7 separate regions of the Homo sapiens genome follow, and regions 1, 2, 3, 4, 6 and 7 are each linked to region 5. The links are contacts of gene promoters, found by promoter capture Hi-C in blood cells and fetal thymus (Javierre and others, 2016). All regions are on one chromosome and are shown on one strand. Each heading gives the region's core, a stretch centred on a gene start or on the middle of the fragment in contact. The rest is flanking DNA. Distances are from core to core; before and after follow the strand shown. Region 1 overlaps VTI1A (vesicle transport through interaction with t-SNAREs 1A). Region 2 overlaps LOC105378490 (a long non-coding RNA gene). Region 3 overlaps VTI1A (vesicle transport through interaction with t-SNAREs 1A). Region 4 has its middle 230 kb from the start of SNORA87. Region 5 holds the start of TCF7L2 (transcription factor 7 like 2). Region 6 has its middle 200 kb from the start of HABP2. Region 7 overlaps VTI1A (vesicle transport through interaction with t-SNAREs 1A).

What was found. The method cuts DNA at HindIII sites, captures the fragments that hold promoters and counts their contacts. A CHiCAGO score of 5 or more calls a contact.
Region 1: a contact is called between a fragment that was not itself captured here and the fragment with the promoter of TCF7L2 in region 5, in 1 of 17 cell types (M2 macrophages). The highest score is 5.2, in M2 macrophages.
Region 2: a fragment that was not itself captured here is called in contact with the fragment with the promoter of TCF7L2 in region 5 in 1 of 17 cell types (M1 macrophages); the score reaches 5.5 in M1 macrophages.
Region 3: a contact is called between a fragment that was not itself captured here and the fragment with the promoter of TCF7L2 in region 5, in 3 of 17 cell types (megakaryocytes, M1 macrophages and endothelial precursors). The highest score is 6.0, in megakaryocytes.
Region 4: a contact is called between a fragment that was not itself captured here and the fragment with the promoter of TCF7L2 in region 5, in 1 of 17 cell types (monocytes). The highest score is 5.5, in monocytes.
Region 6: a contact is called between a fragment that was not itself captured here and the fragment with the promoter of TCF7L2 in region 5, in 1 of 17 cell types (M2 macrophages). The highest score is 5.0, in M2 macrophages.
Region 7: a fragment that was not itself captured here is called in contact with the fragment with the promoter of TCF7L2 in region 5 in 7 of 17 cell types (M1 macrophages, endothelial precursors, M2 macrophages and 4 more); the score reaches 9.2 in M1 macrophages.

Annotation. Positions count from the first base shown.
Region 1 is chr10:112,601,400-112,604,099 of GRCh38, reverse strand. All of the region lies in intron 5 of VTI1A (vesicle transport through interaction with t-SNAREs 1A), which reads right to left. LOC124902503 (a long non-coding RNA gene) reads right to left here. Exons shown (of 2, transcript XR_007062292.1): 1 at 1-2,700. Among named protein-coding and RNA genes, the nearest start is that of MIR4295, 31 kb to the left of the region's middle. The HindIII fragment of the contact is 378 bases long and covers 1,259-1,636 here.
Region 2 is chr10:113,319,137-113,321,836 of GRCh38, reverse strand. LOC105378490 (a long non-coding RNA gene) reads right to left here. Exons shown (of 2, transcript XR_946329.2): 2 at 866-1,033. Among named protein-coding and RNA genes, the nearest start is that of HABP2, 230 kb to the left of the region's middle. The HindIII fragment of the contact is 4,155 bases long and covers 1-2,700 here.
Region 3 is chr10:112,551,946-112,554,645 of GRCh38, reverse strand. All of the region lies in intron 5 of VTI1A (vesicle transport through interaction with t-SNAREs 1A), which reads right to left. Among named protein-coding and RNA genes, the nearest start is that of MIR4295, 81 kb to the left of the region's middle. The HindIII fragment of the contact is 5,640 bases long and covers 1-2,700 here.
Region 4 is chr10:113,269,021-113,271,720 of GRCh38, reverse strand. No RefSeq gene overlaps it. Among named protein-coding and RNA genes, the nearest start is that of SNORA87, 230 kb to the right of the region's middle. The HindIII fragment of the contact is 2,505 bases long and covers 166-2,670 here.
Region 5 is chr10:112,948,874-112,951,573 of GRCh38, reverse strand. TCF7L2 (transcription factor 7 like 2) reads right to left here and starts at 1,327. Exons shown (of 15, transcript NM_001367943.1): 1 at 629-1,327; 2 at 301-367; 3 at 1-91. The coding sequence starts at 817. It overlaps LOC124902502 (a long non-coding RNA gene), which reads left to right. Exons shown (of 2, transcript XR_007062291.1): 2 at 567-945. The HindIII fragment of the contact is 8,187 bases long and covers 1-2,700 here.
Region 6 is chr10:113,355,662-113,358,361 of GRCh38, reverse strand. No RefSeq gene overlaps it. Among named protein-coding and RNA genes, the nearest start is that of HABP2, 200 kb to the left of the region's middle. The HindIII fragment of the contact is 3,371 bases long and covers 1-2,700 here.
Region 7 is chr10:112,568,857-112,571,556 of GRCh38, reverse strand. All of the region lies in intron 5 of VTI1A (vesicle transport through interaction with t-SNAREs 1A), which reads right to left. Among named protein-coding and RNA genes, the nearest start is that of MIR4295, 64 kb to the left of the region's middle. The HindIII fragment of the contact is 4,295 bases long and covers 1-2,700 here.

The DNA.
Region 1 (2,700 bases), core at 198-2,697, 350 kb after region 5:
CTGGGTCACTCGTATCCCCACCCTGTGTTAACCCTCAAACCAAAAGAAAAAAAATGAGTTTATTTCTTAAGCATGTGAATCTGGCACTGACAGCCTCACATCCTAAAAGACAGCACACTGGACACAGGAAAATGCTCAGGGGGAAACAGTGAGCCAGGTGGGCTTAACTAAATTGCTTTCTAAGGGGGATGAGCTCATGAAGGTTTTGTTATTGTTACTGGGTGTTGTCATCTACCAAGAGTAACTGCTCTTCTCCTTTACAGGTAACCAGGCACACAGCCAGGCCTTGTACGCTTGGGTGGGGTGGGGGATGGGGAAGGCATTGGGAGGGAGTGGGTTGCTAAGGTGGATGATGGAAAGCTATTCTTTCTTGTCATTCATTGAGCTGGTCTTGGGATGTAATGCCCCTTTTGACTATCTAAGAAATCTGTGAGCATACCATACAAGGGGAAGAAATTTTGGAAATTCCTAGGATATATTTTGAGATCCAAAGTGTGAAGCACTCAGTTTGAAGTAAAACAGTATTTAGTTCCTATGAGGGAAAAAAACCTACTGGGAAAAATCATGACAACTAAGGAAATCACTATTACTATTACTACTGAAATGGTTAAAAACCAAACAAACAAAACATAAAACAAAATTAAATTAAATAATGACTTTTCTACTCAGGAAAAAAAAGGCAATGAATGTTATTGAAAAACTAAACAAAACCCTTCCTACCTCTGCTATATATCAATGGTCAAGGGCAGCCCCACACCCTCAGGATCAAAAGACTTCTATGGGACAAGTCTTTCTTGAAGGGAACAGGCTCTTATCTCAACACATTGTCAACAAGCTCCCAGTTAGCAATGTCCAACTTCATTTGGGTTTAGCTTGTTATACTCATGCTTGCAATTTCAATGCCACATGGCCCAAACCAGCTTCAACAAGTCAGTTCCCCCGATATGGCTCAGTTATACAGCCAGCATGGTAATACAATTTAGGCAAACGATACAATGAATTACTAGAAGCCTGAAAAGAACCCACTCCATGAATCTCCACAAATCATTTATGAATTCAAAATAAAGTATTATTAACAACAAACACTTCTGACCACAGATAACTAGGTGACACAGAAAATGTTTCAATCATGCACTGGGTTTAAAAAAAATTAAGCAGCACATCTGCTTTAGCAGGCTATTTGGACAATAGTTTCAAGTAGTTCTATGTGACCAAATGCTTTTAAAAAATTGATCTATAAAGGTGTTTCTCTAAAGCTTAGGCTTTCATAAAAAAAATCACCCAAATAAGTGTTTACAAAATTAAAATAAATATTGATGTGAACCAGCTTGAACTCTGCTGTTTTACTGTTTGACATTTTGACCACAATTTCCCAGTGTATGCATCCTTTATAAACATGTTAGTAGCTGCTTCCTAAAGGCTGCCTGATAGTAAAGACTTACAATTCTAAGTCCATCACAATGTCTTATAAATCCATTAGCACCAATATTTGTATATTAAAAACATAATCAATTGTGGCTTCACATTAATTGAGGCATTTCAGAATTTGCTATCAAAAGGCATCAAAACTATTTTAGAGTTTAAGAGGTTTAGATAAACATTTCAAAACATTTAAGGATCAGTCTGAAAGAAAGCTTTGATAAGTCTCTATCTTAATTTTCTGAGCTAGTATTATTTAAGCCCTGGACTGCTTCAGCTGAATTTTGTCTAACTCTTGCATATCAATTGCTCATTTTCAGCAATATCCCGGGTATGCCCCCTGCCATTTGTGGACCTGCCTAAGCAAAAGATTTGATAAAAAAAATTTTTTCATTCGCTCAATAAACAGTAAGTCCCAGGCACTGAGCAAGCAAGGTTGAGGTCAAAGGGTGAATAAAATCTAGCCCCTGCTGTAATTATTCTTAATTAGGAAAGGAATATGTTAGAATTAATGATTTAATTTTCACTTTTGACATTTCTATTGCTCATGTTAACTTTAGAAATGCTCACATTAAAAAGTGCATTCTATAAATGGTGATTTAGAGCAACTGTCATGTGAGGAACTAATGCCTGCATGTTTCAGTTCTTCTCATTTTTAATGGCCATCAACCCCAGCACTCAGAAAAATATGGCTCATACTCCAGCCACATGTTTTCTTCAGAATTTATGGAAATGTATTGTCTTTATCTGTATTTGAATAACCCCAGGCTACTAAGGGACCCTAGTTGTAATCATTCTGCTCTATCAAAATCTAAATCCAATTTCAGATGTGTTTATTTAATTTCCCAATGCCCTTCAGAAAAATTACTCCTAAGAAGGATAAAATGTGGACCATTCTCATTAACTAATAGTGATACCTCAGAGCACATGGCATCCCCCATCCCCTTGTCTTACTAATAAATAGTAATATCTGATACAGAGAATCTTTGTTTCATGATGGAATGAGATGAATTCGTATTACCCATTAATTTAAAGGTCAAGGGTTTTACTGGCCAGTCATGCTTATGAAAGCAAACAGGACAAACCTACTTCCTAGGATGAGGCACGGAACAACTAAGAAAAGTGACTGCATACCACAGTAAATAAAGAGAGTCGACAAGGCATTGGTGCCTGGTTGGCACCAAATTAATTAGACCAGACACATTTACAAAAGATTCCCCATAGAAATAGTCATTTAAATTAAAAAAAAAAAAAGTAAATAATTGATGAGTCAGAATTTTA
Region 2 (2,700 bases), core at 13-2,512, 370 kb before region 5:
ATACGCAATAGCATACGAAAATTCTAATGGTGAAAAGGAATACGTATCCCAGACAACAGATAGCTCAGCACCAGCCTGGTATCCATACTGAAAACAGTATAAGCCTCCCAAATCCTAATCACCAGCTTTTCCGGAGATGTGCTATTAGCTTGTGTGTAGCAGTTGTTGCCTACTTAGTGTAAGTTGCCTACTTAGCATAATTTACATAATGTAAGTTATTTTCTTAACTAAAAAACAATAACAATTTTCTCTTCTCTTACCCTGGAATGACATCCACACATGTTCCAAGACTCGGCCTTTGATTGTCTAACAATAGCACTGCCACAAAAATGGAATTCAAGTGCCCCCGGTTGTGAAATTAAATGTTATTTCACACCCGGTTTGTCAAGATGTTGTCTTTTAAGAGAAGGTGTAAAAATATAACTGTTAACTCTGTTTCATTTTATTGATAAAGAATTCTGTCCTCAGAGTTTTCCTTTACTTTTATAAAGTAATACAGAGTCTTTATTTCATCAATGTGTTTCGCTTTAGTAATTCCCTTGTTTTTATTTCACCAAGTAAAAAATCAAAATAGTTACCACCACTCTCAGGAAGTGAAACTTGTACCGGAATCACTGAGTTGTCTATATTCCTTTTCGTTACTGGCCTCCCGCCCATCCTCCCAAAAGGAGAAATAGTAAGAACTAATAATAACAAAGTCCTAAATTCTGCCCACAAGAATGCAGGGAACAAGGCCGTTGAGTGAGATTGAGTGGCAGATGTCAGTGATTTAATTTCACTTTCTTAACTTGCTTTTTTGAAAAACATCTTCATGTGCGACTTGGAGGAGAAGAAAGGCACAATGAAAACAGACAGCAACAAAGGACCAGCTGTGAGTTTTTTTAAATACATACATACATGGTTGGCAGTAAGAAACTTCCAGGTTTAACAGTGAAGAGGAAAATTCAGTGGCATTTGACATGATCAGTCTCAATGCCTAGAGCAGGCAGGCATCTGGTCCCTGGTTTTCTCATTAGTCGGGTTTTCTGGAAAGCTGAAATGATGGGAGAAGCATAGAATTCAGTTCATCCCAGTGCTATGGAAAGAGACCCAGAATGAGAGTGAGGGGACAATTGTTCAAGTCCTACGTCTTCCACCAACTAACCGTGTGGCTGTTGTTCTGAGTGTCAGGAAAACTAACCCGTTAACAGCATGCAAGAGACAAGCAAGCTAGTAACAAGACAATCTGTGACGACCTCGAAGCTACTCAGATTTCATTGTACCTCCACACCCCTTATAAAAGAATCTCCGCATACGAATATTGAACCTAAGAAAGCCCATCCCCACCCCACAAGTTTGAACCAGAAGACTTCTGAAAAACGCAAACGACACTCCCTGTGTGAGTTCAAACATGTCCACACATTCTTGGAGACATCCCCCATGAGGAAGTAGAGTCTAGTTCTCCTCCCCCTGAATATGGGCAGGCTCTAGTGACTTGCTTGCAATGAATAGTATGTGTGGAGTGATGCTGTGTGGCTTCCAAGACTAGGTCATATCAGCGGATACAGTGTCTGCCTGGTTCTCTCTCAAGATGTTTATTGTGGGAGCCTACTATGCTGTATGGAAGCCCGGGCCACTTGGAGAGGCCACATGTAGGTGTTCCAGCTGAACGAAGTTTGGGCAGTAGCATCCTGGATTGCTTTGTAGCTTAAGGAAAGTTTGGCAAGGCCACTGGGGAGTCCTCCAGCCAAAATTACCCATCAGAGAAGTCCTGCATTCCCCACGAGCACACTGGCCTTAGCATCCCTGTTGTGTCTCATTGGCTAAGAGCAGCCAACGGTGGGCCTGGCTTCAGTGCAAACATGGTAATGAATTCTAGGGCACAAACAGCTTCTGATCACACATGCACTCAACTCAACTGGAGCAAGGGCAGGCCTGTTATCAGAACCATGGTAACCCTTGCAATCTGTGAGCTGCAAATAACCAGTGCTTGGTTATGATTGCTACAGATACACAGTGGAAACGGGAGCATTCAGAGCCACTGTGAGAAGGCGTCCACCACAACTCTCTTCCTAGAGTTACTCCCAGGATCAGTATGGATTTCTGACATCTTATTTTCCATTTGGCTCAGTGCCTTTGCCCTCGATGACTCAGAGGGTGGCATCCCAATGCAGGGCTGAGAATTCCCATTCTGAGACTGACCATGGCAGAACCAGGATCACTCCAATCCAAGCCCTGAAGGAGGAGCCATGAGTGGAGACAGGGAGGCCAAGCACCAGTGCTGACTTGAGAGAACCCAAGAGCTGCTCATGGGAAACAGACCCAAGTTCAGAAGGCAAGGGGAGGCACAAACCTCATAGGACTAACTTGGGGCTGAACAGAAGGGGCCAGTACTGCCATAAATGACTTTGGGAGGTCTCTCACCTTCAGTGAGAGTAGGATAAATGCACTTATCTGGAGAGCTTCACTTTCAAAGCCAAGGAGAGTAACTTCCCTTTACAAACTGTTTCAAGATCAGAAGCAAAACAGGCTACAGGACATAGGAACTTGTAACCTTTAAATGTGAAGCATATAACTTAATCAAAATGAAATGACTTTCAGAATAATAGGTAATACCCTGATGATTTATGAACAAATTTAGTTGAGCAAACAGCTATTTATTGCCACCCACCCCCCCCCCCCACACACACACACATAACAAAGCCAAAAGGCAATGTTGAT
Region 3 (2,700 bases), core at 46-2,545, 400 kb after region 5:
GTCAGGTTTGCAACAATGATGATATTACATGATGGGTACTCAATAAATATGAAGACTACTGTGATTGCAATGTCCTTTTGTTGAAATAAACTTTTAATTTCAGAATAGCTTTAGATTTACAAAAAAATTATGCTCATGGCACAGAGTTTCCATTTACTCTACATCCAGTTTCCCCCATTATCACTTACATTATTATGGTACATGTGTCACAATTAACAAACCAATATTGATACATTATTATTAACTAAAATCAATAACTTTATTCATATGTCCTTGGTTTTTGCACAATGTCCTTTTTCTGTTCCAGGATTCCATCCAGAACTTGCATTATGTTAAGTTTCCTTAAGTTCCTCTGGGCTGTGACAGTCTGCAGTGTAAGTGTACTTTTAGCATATGCTTTAGAAATGACATATATACATTTGCAGACTTACAACTATTGTCACCACTTAGATAAAAACACACACAGCAGAATTATTTTTTGTTACAGACCTAAGGAATATAAATTTGAAAAGTGAATAAAGATAAATGTCTAGTAGAAAAGAAAGCAGATGATATCGGACTCCTTAATGTATCTATTAATATGGAAAAGAGAGAAATAAAGTCTCATTTGCCACAAAAACTAGAAGATCACAACCACTGACCTGGCCTGTAAGTCATCTATCCTTTCACTTCTGCCCATTGTACTGTTAATAGCTAGGGTCTTAACTGATGATGTATGAGGCAGTGAAGTAGGCAAGAAATAAATACTTTGCAGAGATAGATAAACTGCCCTCCAACCCACCTATATTGTTCTCCCTCTTTCTTAGTATAAAGTTGTATTAGAAAGTGGTCATTCAGTTGGAACTGTACTTCCCAGTCCCCCTGCATCTAAGTAGCACCATTCAACTGTTCTTGACAGTGGAACACAGGTAGAATTAATGCGGAGCTTCAAAAGTGGGTATACCTTCTCCACTTTCTTTGCCTAGCTGCTGGCTAAAGGTAAAGGACACCAAAGCCCCAGGGCAGGGCAGAGCCAAAAGACAGCTGAAGCCTAGATTTCTGAATAACTACCTGAAAGGGCTGTCTGCCCACTTGGACACTTGCATTACACAGTTTCAAGAGTGAGAAATAAACGTCACTGAATCAAGCCACTGGGGCGACTGGGGTTTATTTGTTACAGCAGCTAGCGTTACTATGCAAATTAGTACAAATGGAAACTAACATTTATGGATCACCACTGTGTTGGATGTTTTATATAGTTTATCACATTTATCTCTCAGGACAACCTCCATATAGAAGATCTGCAAGGATTTTTATACATTTGAAAACTAAGACTCAGAAAGGCTAAGGAACTTGTCTAAGGTCTTACAGTTATTAAGTGGCAGGACCAAGATTTGAACCTGAGTCTGTCTCGTAGCAAAGCTCCAGGCACATTCCATTTTGCTTCACTGCAGGTGAAAGAGAGGTGACCTGACTTGGCACTTGGATGAAAAAATAATTTCTGTGCATTTTATATGAGTAACTTTTTTTAAATCCTCAAAGGAGAACAGAAATTGCACGTGTGTTCTCCCTACTTTTTATGTAGAAGACACAAAGTCCCAATTTACAAGGGGTGGATGTGAGACGATTAGTTCATTTGAATTTGTTAGCATTTTTCAGATCAAGACAACCTTATACAAAAATGCAGAAGAGAGAGATACACTACACCTTTGTAACCTGCTGATAATCTTACAGTGTTTAATTTGAGCAGAGGCCAGCAACTTACAGAGGGCACGAAAGAACTGTTGCTCCACAAGGTTTACAGTTAACAAAAGAGAGAAGAGAAAGACGTACTTGTTCTCACAACAGTATGAATTTAAAGAACTATATGGGGTGTGCATTCTACAGGAAGCCCAAGTAGGAAGAAAAATGAAACACTGTACCTTGCACACAGCAATAAAAATGAGGGGATTCATTGTAGTAAGAAAATTCACAGCTGGCAGGCAGTATCAGTGAGGCAATAAGATACTTGGTCCATCTTCATGCTTACCTTTTAGAGTCAATGGTTTTTTTTTTTTTAAAAGGTCTCTTTTTACAGTAACAAAGTCACTCCAGTCAATCCCTTTGACTCACCTACATGAAAAATTTGGATGTCTGTAAAAGTCTTATGCTAACACTAGTGAGAAAAACTCGTGCATCTCTTAAATTTGTGTAGCCTTCTTAGGACAGATTTTGTTTGTTGGTTGGTTGGTTTGTTGGTTTCAAATGAACAGGTCCTAATCATCAACAGATCTGCACAGAGTATTGAACATTACATAGATAATTCAAAGATATGCTAATGAGAAAGAGGGAAACTAAAAGTACTTATTTCTTCATGAAACCAAATAAAACTTAATACATATTCTGGATGGTGAAAGTAGATGGCATTTGGGGAAATATTCAGGGGATCAGTGTTACTCAGCTTGAACAAATTTCCATTTCAGATAAGGTAATTTATTGATTGATACGATGAGTTAACAGATGTAAAAGTAGTCTGAAAATTTTAAAGCAGAATATACAATGTTATCGCCTGTGTTACCATTGTTATTTTTAGCACATAATACATTAACAATTACCAACATTTATGATTTAAAGCATTAAAAACCTCCATAATATATTAAATAATTACATATCTGTCTATTAATGAATGGGTTAATTGGGATGGTTACTCTGAAATAATAAAAAGTTTGATGGAAAATGTTT
Region 4 (2,700 bases), core at 169-2,668, 320 kb before region 5:
TCTCCCTCAGAGACTTTTGACCTTGTCTTTCGTGGGGTATTTTTACTGGTGGGGATTATGAAAAAGTATGCCAGTCCAGGCCAAGGCTTTGTCATACTTAACCTTCTCCAGAGATCTGAAGCCTCTTTAGGTGTATTTCTTCATTTAATTTTGGCCTCCTAAGCTTGGTATAAGTAACCAATTGTATGACTTATAAAGAGATTTTGTGATTTTGTTTTGTTTTTATAACTGCTTTGTTGAGATATAATTCACATACTGTACAATTCACCCATTGAAAGTGTACAATTCAATAGCTTTGGTAGAATCACAGAGTTATGCTTCCATCACCTCCATCAATTTTAGGACATTGTCATTACTGCAATTAAAAAAAATTCACACCCATTGGCTTTTTCTGTCCTCCAGTTTCCCCAACCGCTGGCAACCCCTAATCTAATTTCTATCTCCATAGATTTGCCTCGTCTGGACATTTCTTATAAACGAAATCCTACAATATGTGGTCTTTTTGTGTCTGGCCTCTCTCACTTGGCACATTGTTTTCAAGTTTCATCCATGTTGTAGCATGTCAGTGTATCATCCCTTTTTAGTGCTGAATAATATTCCATCATATGGACATGCCACATTTTGTTTATCCGTTCATTTGTCATTCAGTTGATGGACATTTGAGCTCTTTGCACTTTTGGTTATTATGAATAATGCTATTATGAACATTCATGTGCACATTTGTGTGTAGACAGATGTTTTCAGCTTTCTTCAGTGTATATCTAGGAGAGAAACTGCTGGATTGTATGTGAAGCCTATGTTCAACCATTTGAAGAACTGCCAAGCTGTTTTCCAAATGGCCGCACCATTTTATACGCCACAAAGGCACTTTCGAAGTGTAAAAGTTCGATGCAAATGATTATAATCTAATATTAGTCATTGAAATGGCAAGAATATTTGATCATTGTAATAATTTGTAGACAATACTAAGGTATCTAAAGTGACACCTCTCCCTCCAGTCCCCCAATCCCACATAGAGGCAGTGTAAACAATTTGGCATGCAGTCCATTCCTCCTTCTTTCCTCTGCCCACCATACTTATACAAAATGTATGTATTTGAACGTAATGGCAAAAACTGCAATTACTTTTGCACCAACCTAATACTTTCATTAAAATAAAAATGCATTCTGACTATGCATATGGCTCTAATGTCTTCTTTTATTTTTTAAATTATAGTAAAATACCATCTTAACCATTTTTTAGGATACAGTTCCATGGCATTAAGTACAGTCCCTCACACTTATGCAGCCATCACCATCATCCATCCACAGAACTCATTTTAACCTTCTAAACTGGAACTCTATAGCCATTAAATGATAACTCCCCCTTCTCCCTTCCCCTCAGCCACTGGAAACCATCATTCTGCTTTCTGTGAAATCACATAATATGTGTCCTTTTGTGACTGGCTTATTTCACTTGGCATAACGTCTTCAGGGTTCACCCAGGTGGTAGCATGTGTCAGAATTTCCTTCCTTTTTAAGGCTGAACATTATTTATTTTATAGGCCACATGTCACCTATCCACTCATCTACTGATGAACACATGGGTTGCTCCTACCTTTTAGCTATTGTGAATGAAGCTGTTATGAATGTGGGCATATAAGTATCTCTTTTTGTCCCTGATTTCCATTATTTGGAGTATATGCCTTCCAACTTCCTTTTTTAAAAAAAAAAATTAAGTAAACTTTTTTCGAAAATTTTATCACTCAAAAAAATCTTAACAGTATACTAATGGGGTTCTTCCATATTATCGCCTTCATGCACTGAATTGCTGGGGGTCTCATAATCCACCTCATACATTCCCCCATTCATGGGAATTGAATAGCCATTACCATTGGGTGTTTCCCATGGTGCAAAGCTCTGGGCATCCATTGGCTGACTGGATTCTCACAACAATCCTTTGAGATGGCTCTAACTATCAGCCTCTTTTGAGAGACAAGGAAACTGTGGTAGAGAGCTTAAGTCATCTGTCCAAGGCCATTCTGCTGGTAAGGACTGAGGTTAGAAATCAAAGTCTGTCTGACTCTCAAGCTCACCTGCCTAACCTCAGCATCTTAACTAATGACATTCCTCATGGGTTTTTTTGGTTGGCCAAGGAGTGGCCTGGCAGGGGACGGAGGTACAGAACCTGAATATATGTAGATATCCACATTCCAGGAGCCAGGGACTGATTCCTCAACAAAAGCAGAGGTGTCTTTCTACAGTGAGCGTCCTTTCTCAGAGCTCAGGCTTCATGAAGCCTCAGAAAACCAGAGTGAGCTCCCAGCTTCCTACAGAAGGCTACTACTCATGCTTCCTTCCCTTTGACTTCTCTCCTGCTCAATCCTGCCTTCCCCTGACCCTGCCTCCACACTGTCCTCCTCCAGACTGTCTAGGTTCAGGTGACAGAAACCCAGCTCAAATATGCTTATACAAACAGAAAGACTTTTGGGTTTCATTTAACTGGGAAAGTAGGGACACATCTAGCCTCTATCATGATTGGATCCAGGGATTGAAATGATGTCATCAGGCTCTTTATCTCTCAGCTCGGCTACTCTGAATGATGATCTTATTCTTTCCTGCAGTGGACAGGCCTTCTCCATGAAGTGAGAAAGCTCACCACCAGAAACTCCAAAACTACAGCTTCAAAGCTTAACTCTCTCACCAGAAGGCAGGCCAGTTT
Region 5 (2,700 bases), core at 78-2,577:
AGGTAGGGGCTCGTCAGGTCGGGGATCATGATGAAGGGGTAGCCGGGATACGGTGGCCCCTTAAAGAGCCCTCCATCTTGCCTCTTGGCCGCTAACATGGCGGGGCGGCGAGGGGACAGCGGCGGCCGCGCGGAGCGGGAGAGAGTGAGGAGAAACTTTTTAGAAAGTGCCCCGAGGGGCCGGGCGCCCCGACCGGGCCGGCGCAGGGCCAGGCCGAGCCGGGCGCGGGGCCGGGGCGCGCGGGGCGGCCGGCCCGGGGGGCGGCTCCGGGCGGCTGCGGGGCGCGCGGGGCGTACTCACCTTCTTCCAAACTTTCCCGGGATTTGTCTCGGAAACTTTCGGAGCGAGGCGGAGGCCGTCTTTCCGCCTTCCCAGAGGGGTGGAGGTGGGGAGGGCGAGGGGCAAACGCCACGCAGAAGGGGGAGAAGGGGGAGAAAAAGAATCGGCGAGGTCGAGGGGGGGGTAGAAAAAAACAGGGTTACAAGTTTTTGCAATGGTGGCACCGTACGCACACGCCGCCCGCCGGGCCCCGCCGCCGCCCCCAGCCCCGATTTCTCCCCTTTCAGCAACATTTGCCAAGCCCAGGAAACAGATAAAAAACCCCACCAGCCCGAGGGGCTTTTCCTACCTCGGAATCGGAGGAGCTGTTTTGATTCGTTTCTGATTCATTGACTAGAGACGATTTGACATCAGCTAAATCCCTCTCTGCCGAGGAGTTTTCGGAGCTCTTCTCCTCCTGTTCGCCCTCGTCTTTGAAGGAAATCAGTTCGTCGTTGGCGCCTAGGTCATCCCCTCCACCGCCGTTCAGCTGCGGCATTTTTTTTTCACCCACCAGCAGCAATTTTGGAAGAAAAATGAAGGAGGAAGAAAAGCCAAAAAAAATCACCCCCAAAAAGTTTTGCCCCCCCAAAAAATATTGCAAGAAAAAGACGAGTCCAAGGTGAACTTTTTTCTGCTTGGGGGTCTTTTTCTCCTGGGGAGGGGAAAAGAGGGAGGAGGGGAGGGGAAGGGGGGGGAGATCTTCTGCACGCGTGAGTTTGGGTTTCTTTTTTCTCTCGTTCCCAAGGATCCGATCAATGTGCAAAAAAATAATAAATAAAAAAGGGGGGTAAAAAAAAAAAAAACACCAACAACAACAAGAAGTCAGATATAAAGAGCAAAGGGGGGGGGAAGCCGAAGATACAGGAGGTGCTCGTGCCGCTCGGATTTGAGTGAGTTGAAGTTAGACTGAGAGCTTTTCAGTTCAAAGGCGGCGCTGATTGACAGATAGAAAAAGGGGGATCGAAATCCGGAGGAACGGAGTAGTCTGGGAGCGGAGATTATTGACAGGGCGAGAGGAACACACTGCCTTAATGAGATGCCGGAGGGCGGGGCCGGCCCAGTGACGTGTGCATAAATAAACAGCCGGGGTGGGCGGGGCGGGGGCGGCTAACAATGATCCTTTCGGGCGCCGGGAGAGGGAGGAGGGAAAGAAGGAGGAAGAGAGGGGCGGGGAAGCCGGGGGGAGACGGAGGGAGGAGTGTGCAGGGGGAGCGGCCTGCGCGGAGTGTGTGCGAGCCCGGGATTCTGGGCGAGGGTGCAGGGACTTGCTCCGGGAGGGGGCGGTTTCAGAAAGACAATGCGGGGTGGGAGAGGAGGAGAAGGGGGTGGCGACCAAGTCAGGAATCCGAGCCGAGGAAGGCGGAAGGAAAGCCCACTTGGGGGGCGGGGATGGGGAGAGGCCCAAAACAGTGCACTTTAGAAATATTAGAAATAAGTCTTAAGGGAGGGGGAAAAGGAAGGGTAGTATTTGAGAAAGTGGTGGCTGGGGGAGGGGGTGGGGGGGTGCTTGGTGGTTAATTCAGCAGTGAAATCAGCCACCCTTAGACGGGATGCGACAAAAGTGGTCAAAAGGAAAGATCAACCCTCCACTTTCAGAGAGCTTGGGGAAGTGAAGGGGCTGGTCAAAGTTCCTGGTCATCTACAATGAAAGAAACTATTAACCCATGAGGCCTCCCTCCTCCCTTTTTTGTTTATTAGTAGTGAATCATTTCATGAAATGTTAAGTCCCACTAGGATGGATATGCCAAAACGACTTTTTATGCAAAAAACAAATGCTAAATGTCAGAAACATTAAAAGTATCCTTAAGGAAAAATATATGATTCTTTTAAATGTAGAGTGGTGTTTTGCTTTTTTTTTTTTTTTTTTAACTGACGTTGGAGGTAGTAGGAAATGAGCTAGAGTCAAAGTCCTTTTTGACTTAGGAGGTGAAAAGTTTGGGCGTTAACACCGTCAGGGAAAATAAAACTGAAAGTTCACCAACCCCTGGGATCAGTTGGGCTACAGTGTTTCTCGAAGGGGGTCTGAAATGAAATCCCCGAAAGACTGACCAAAATAATCAAGATGTAGGTGGCTCTGGCAGGAAATTGCTAACCAAACCGATGCTAGAAGACCTTCGGGAGAAGATGGGAAACCTGGGGCTTGAGGCAGGTATTTGTTGACTTTTAGGTATTAGAGGAGGAGCAGACTGATTTGCTACAAAATGGGGAATGGAATTATGTTAAAGAGGAAAGACCCAGCTCCCAAAACACAATGTTCCTGGGTGATAGAGCAAGAAAATTCATTTTTGCAAATACCCAGTAAGAAGTAGACTGGACACTACAACATGAAAAAGAGAAAAAAGAAAAAAATAAATCAGTAGGATTTAGCAAATTGCCTCT
Region 6 (2,700 bases), core at 37-2,536, 410 kb before region 5:
CATGAAAAATACCACGCCCGATTTCAACGAAGACACCTTGGTTGTGCACAGCCCCAGGCCCACAGGGTGTGCTTTCCCCTCTGCCCTTCCCACCAAACGCTCCTTTATTATCCAACAGACCAGATAGCAATAGGGCGACTTCATCCTCCTGAGCGGCTCCACATTCCACAAAGGGGCCATTGCTATTTGCCACTCTGGGAGAGAAAGCCCGTCACGGGCCTTCCCCTATGGAGCCCTCTCTCTTTCCCTGCCTCTCCTCCAGCTGCTCCTGGTTCAAGCCGCTGCCTGCCCCGGCTAATAATGCCTTGTCATGCAGTGACAGAATTACGGTCTCACACTGGTTTCACATGTCACAAATAATTGTGCTCATTGCGCATCATATTGAAGTTGTCAGGCCTCTCTTACGCCTATAATTTGTGTGAGTTGATCATACTTTGGTAAATCAGCAGGTCGCAACCTGTGCCCTTTAGCCCCCATGGCTGGCTGAGAATGACCTACAAATCTTGTGACAGGGACAACAGAGAGGGTATGAACTGCTCAATTGCTCGTGTCTATCAGCTGCCGTGGAGAAAGCCCGTTGCTCTCTGCTTTCGCCATCACTTTAAACGGCTAACGCGGCACCCTATGTCAGCCCATCTTAATTTCTTCACATATGTTTTTTTTTCCCCCTAGTTTTTTTTTAAGTACTTTTGGATATTTCTAATTTTTTTTCCTTTACCACAAGACATTTTGGTGCCAAACCCAAGTGTCTTTCTTCCATGTGTTTTAAATAAAAACCTCCAGTGACTGTGATAAAGGGAACAGACCTCACTCTCTCTGCCCAGCCCAACTGAACAGAGCTCCACACAATGGTTAAATCTGGCTGGCAGCTTTATGAGCTCCATTGCTAACACTTTATTGGGTAACACGTTCACAAATAGTGTTCCTGAGCCTTTGTTTTCATTAAGGTACAACATGTACCATCAAGTTGCATTTAATTCTCTGCTTCGTATTTTATACACAGTATCACTCACCGTGGCCTTCAGTATCTAATGCTGGAGAGAGGGTAATGAAGTTCAAGCTGCTTTTATTACCCTGGATCTTCAATAACTGGCTTCTTAAAAAGTCAGTGGAAAAGAAGCAAGAATACCAAGTTCTGTCCAGACTGATGCTCTGCAGAAATGCTGGAGTGATGTCAAGAATAAAATGGTTTTATGTGGGTCTATCTCCAGGGGAGCTGTTGCAAGTTAGGTGCCCAGAGAGTGGCTAGCCTCCTCCTTGGTTAAGAAACAGAACATGGTGTCAATGGCTCCACGATGTTCACTCTGGTGACTTCCCGTTCTTTGGCAAGCTACCTCACTCCTGCAAAGAAGTACAAGTGGGTGGGTTTGTAATTCTGAAAGCAGACAGCAACATCTGACTGCCCATGTTGGGATGTCAGGAACTAAGGATGATGCCACTTGTTGGAGCAACAGCAGGCATAAGGGCAGTGTGTGAAAGGAGAGAAAATGAGCAAGCCTCTCTCTCCACACCATACAAGGCATGCCCATTTAATTTCCAAAAGCATCAACTGAGGGCATGTGAATCAGGAATAATTAGCAGCACACACAAGCAATGCACAGTTGTTACAAAAGACACAAACTCATGTTGCTCGACTGTTTGGATCCCTTTCCCCCTTACATCATAGGCACAGACCCATGATGGTTCTCAGCACTGAAAGGCGTATCACTTTCGATGCAATTTACAACAGCCAATCACCAAGTTAAGGCGGGAGTGGGGGAAGAAAATGTGTCTGGGTCGCAACTATAACCCTCCAAAGGCCCTAGCTATGAGGCAAGTTCAATGCAGATGTGGGTGGTTATGGACTGGAGGTTTACTTTTCAAGAGTATCTTTTTGCTGAGAAAACCCAATGGAAATGTAGACAGATGGGGGTTCAGATCACAGTACCACCTCTAACAGGTTTGGTGACCTAGGCACGTCACCTTAACTCTCCGTGTCTCAGTTCCTCAACCTGCAAAGTAGTTGGCTCACAGTAGGTGCTGAGAAGATCTTATTTTTTTTTTCTCAGTCTAGGTTTTTGTTTGCAAGCAAAGTAACAGTGACAGTTAAGCAGAAAAGGAATATATAGGGAAGATGTGGGCAGCTTACAGAGTCTGAAGAAATGCTGGAGAGCTGAGATGAAAAATGAGCTGGAACCAAGGGAGGTTAGAGGGCAAAGAACATAGCTGACACCAGACCTTGGGCACAATCCAGTTATGATGCTGCCCCTGGCACCACCTCCATTGGCACTTGAGTCCTACCACTGAACCCCAGACTCCAGTATCTTCTTCCTTCTCAATCTTTACATGGGACTGGGGAAGGAAGGAGTTCAGGCTTCAGGTTTTACTTACAACCCCTTTAATAATTTAATACAGTATGTATTATTTTTTGGTTCTTTTTCAACAAAGGTGTGGGGTGGGGGTGGAGAATCTGCATCAAAGCAACCTGATCAGCTTATCCAAAGCCATGCTGTCAATCAGTGACACTGTTTGGAATGAACACACACACACATCTCCAGTTCCCCTTAAGTTGTGTCCATAACTAGCTCATGGAATGACTGTGGGAAAATTCAGGGGAAAGAGTAAAACTCTGGCTTCCCATAGGAGCAGTGAAGACATTGGCTACTAAGTGCAAAGTCATCTTTGACTCCCACCTCTGTTACTGGTGAGACAGGGCTCTAA
Region 7 (2,700 bases), core at 155-2,654, 380 kb after region 5:
CTAGACTAATTTACATTCCCACCAACGGTGTATAAGTGTCCCTTTTCTCCATAGCATCGCCAATATCTGTTATTTTTTGACTTTTTAACAAAAGTCATCCTGACTGGCATGAGATGGCATCTCATTGTGTCAACTGCTATCTTATAATGCATGTTTTGTTGTGAGTTTTTTCTTTTAAGGCATCCCAAGATGGCTTTCCAAGGCTAGTGTTGTCTCCTATAGAGGAACGAGTTTCCTTAAGATGAATCACTGGATACATGAGATATTACTAGTCTTTTCTTTGGAGTATAAACTTGGAAGGAATAGACAAGATGGGAAGATATTTTAAATCATCTTAGGACAAAGTAAAATGGGGAACTAAGAAGTCTGGAATCTCTAATATCTAGCAGTATGGCATTTTGAATAAGTCATTTAATCACTCAGTTTCAATTTCTTCACATGTAAAATAAAGATAAATACCCATAAACCATAAAATGGAATGTTTTGAAGATAAAGATAACACAGGGAACAGCACAGTACAGTATGCAACACATAGAAGATGCTCAATAAATATTAGCTGAAATGGTTGCTGATTTCCTCATTTGTAAAGTGGGGATGATAGGACTTACATGGTTATTAAATGAAATAATCTATGTAAACTCTTTAACATGGTGCCAGGCACACAGTAACCACTCAATAAATGTTTGTTATTATGGTTATTATTAGTCTAGTTATTTGTTAACTCTCTTATCTCTGCTTTCAGCAATGAATCAGAAGGAGGAACGTGGGAAAATGCTGAGAGGGATACCTTCTATGAGATATTATGTGCTGAATTCCTCTACTGGCTCCAGAAGCTGGTGAGAAAATTAGCACAAAAATACATCTGGCATTTTAGCCTCTTCCGAGATGTATGCACAGAGGTATTCTGGCTATTACGTGAGCAACACTCTACTTTGAAGTCTAAACACTTTATTTAAATATTATATTTTCCTTCATTAAAATAGCTATCTTTTAATTGTTTTTTGTTTATATCTCAAAATATGGGTCAGCATTCACTGAACTTTTCATCTAAAATACATTTGATACTAATTTTTCCAACTGGAAATTAGGATATTCCAATATCCAAAGTATTACAAAATCCAGGCTCAATCTTTACCATTATTTTACTACTAGAATGCCAATATTAGGTTTTCTTTTCTTTCTTTCAATTTTTTTTTCCCCATAAGAAGTGCTGCTTTGCTTTGCCACAGGGGGAAAATGAAGGAAGCAGGGAAAATGACTTTAAATATGCAACCTTCAGGCAGCTATCAGTTTCCAAACTTAAAAAAAAAAATTTTGTACACAGCCAGTTTAGAGTTTGTTGGATTCCCAGATGTATGCCCTGACTCCATTTTTCACAAAAGGTAATTTTATATTTTAATATGATGGTGTTCCTGGCAACACTGCATGTTATATTTGAAAAAAGACCAACAAAAAGCAAGGGCCATATAATTGTATGAGATGCCACACAGTAGGCTTTTAAAGAAGAAATCCCCTTAATTATGTCTTTGAGGGTCTGAGCACCAAAATGCAGGGAATTGGTGGTACTGAATGCACACTTTGCATAGAAAAGACATTTCTCTAGAGAAAAACAGACTTTGCAGATAGGCATGTAAAGTTTCAAAGCACAGGTTCTTCTAGGTTCCTATTAGCTTCATACATGAAAGCAATAACCCTCAGAAGTTAATATGCTTCTCAAGTACCTGAAGTTACTTCTTAGGAAGGAAGTTGCCTGGGCCATACCTCCAGAGATTCTGATCTGGTCGATTATCATTGGCACCCAGGAAGCTGTGTTTTTTTTAGTAGGCACCCAGGCACTACTGATGCAAGTTTTTACCCACTTTCAGAGGCATGCTCTTCACAGCACCATATCACCACCTTCCAAAGTTTTCCCAGGATACCCTCTTCGCTTGTCAGTCCTCACTAATGTACAGTTATCTGCCAACATCATTACAGATGGCACTGCTTTGGCAGTTGGCTCCATGTTGAGGGCAAAAGCCAACCTCTGTCTTCAGAGTATAAACTTAAGAGATGTTCCAATTCAACTTTCAGTTCTGTTTTCTAGACTAGAAGTCAATTGGCATAATTAAACACTTTATCTTTAGCATGTGATAATGAAAAAAAGTAAAGGATTTGACTTTATACTGCCCTTCAATTGGACTGATTCCTTAACCTCTCTGGACCTCAGTATACTTATTTGCAAAATGGGAAAAACAGTACTTACCCCGTAAGATAATTATGAAGATCAAATGAAGTGTATGCCTGGATCACAGAAGGCAACAAACAGTTGTCCGCCTTCTCAGCAAATTTATCATTAGGGTTTCTAGAAGGCACACAATTAACCTACTTGAGTTTCACCTTTTTTCCCATAGCTTTTTTTTTTTTGAGATGGAATCTTGCTCTGTGCCCACGCTGCAGGGCAGTGGCACGATCTCAGCCCACTGCAACCTCCGCCTCCTGGGTTCAAATGATTCTCCTGGCTCAGCCTCCCAAGTAGCTGGGACCATAGGTGCAAACCACCACACCCGGATGATTTTTGTATTTTTAGCAGAGACAGGGTTTCACCTTGTTGGCCAGGCTGGTCTCAAACTCCCGACCTCAGGTGATCCGCCCACATATGCCCCCCAAAGTGTTGGGATCATAGGCATTAGCCACCGCGCCCAGCTGAGTTTCACCTTTTAA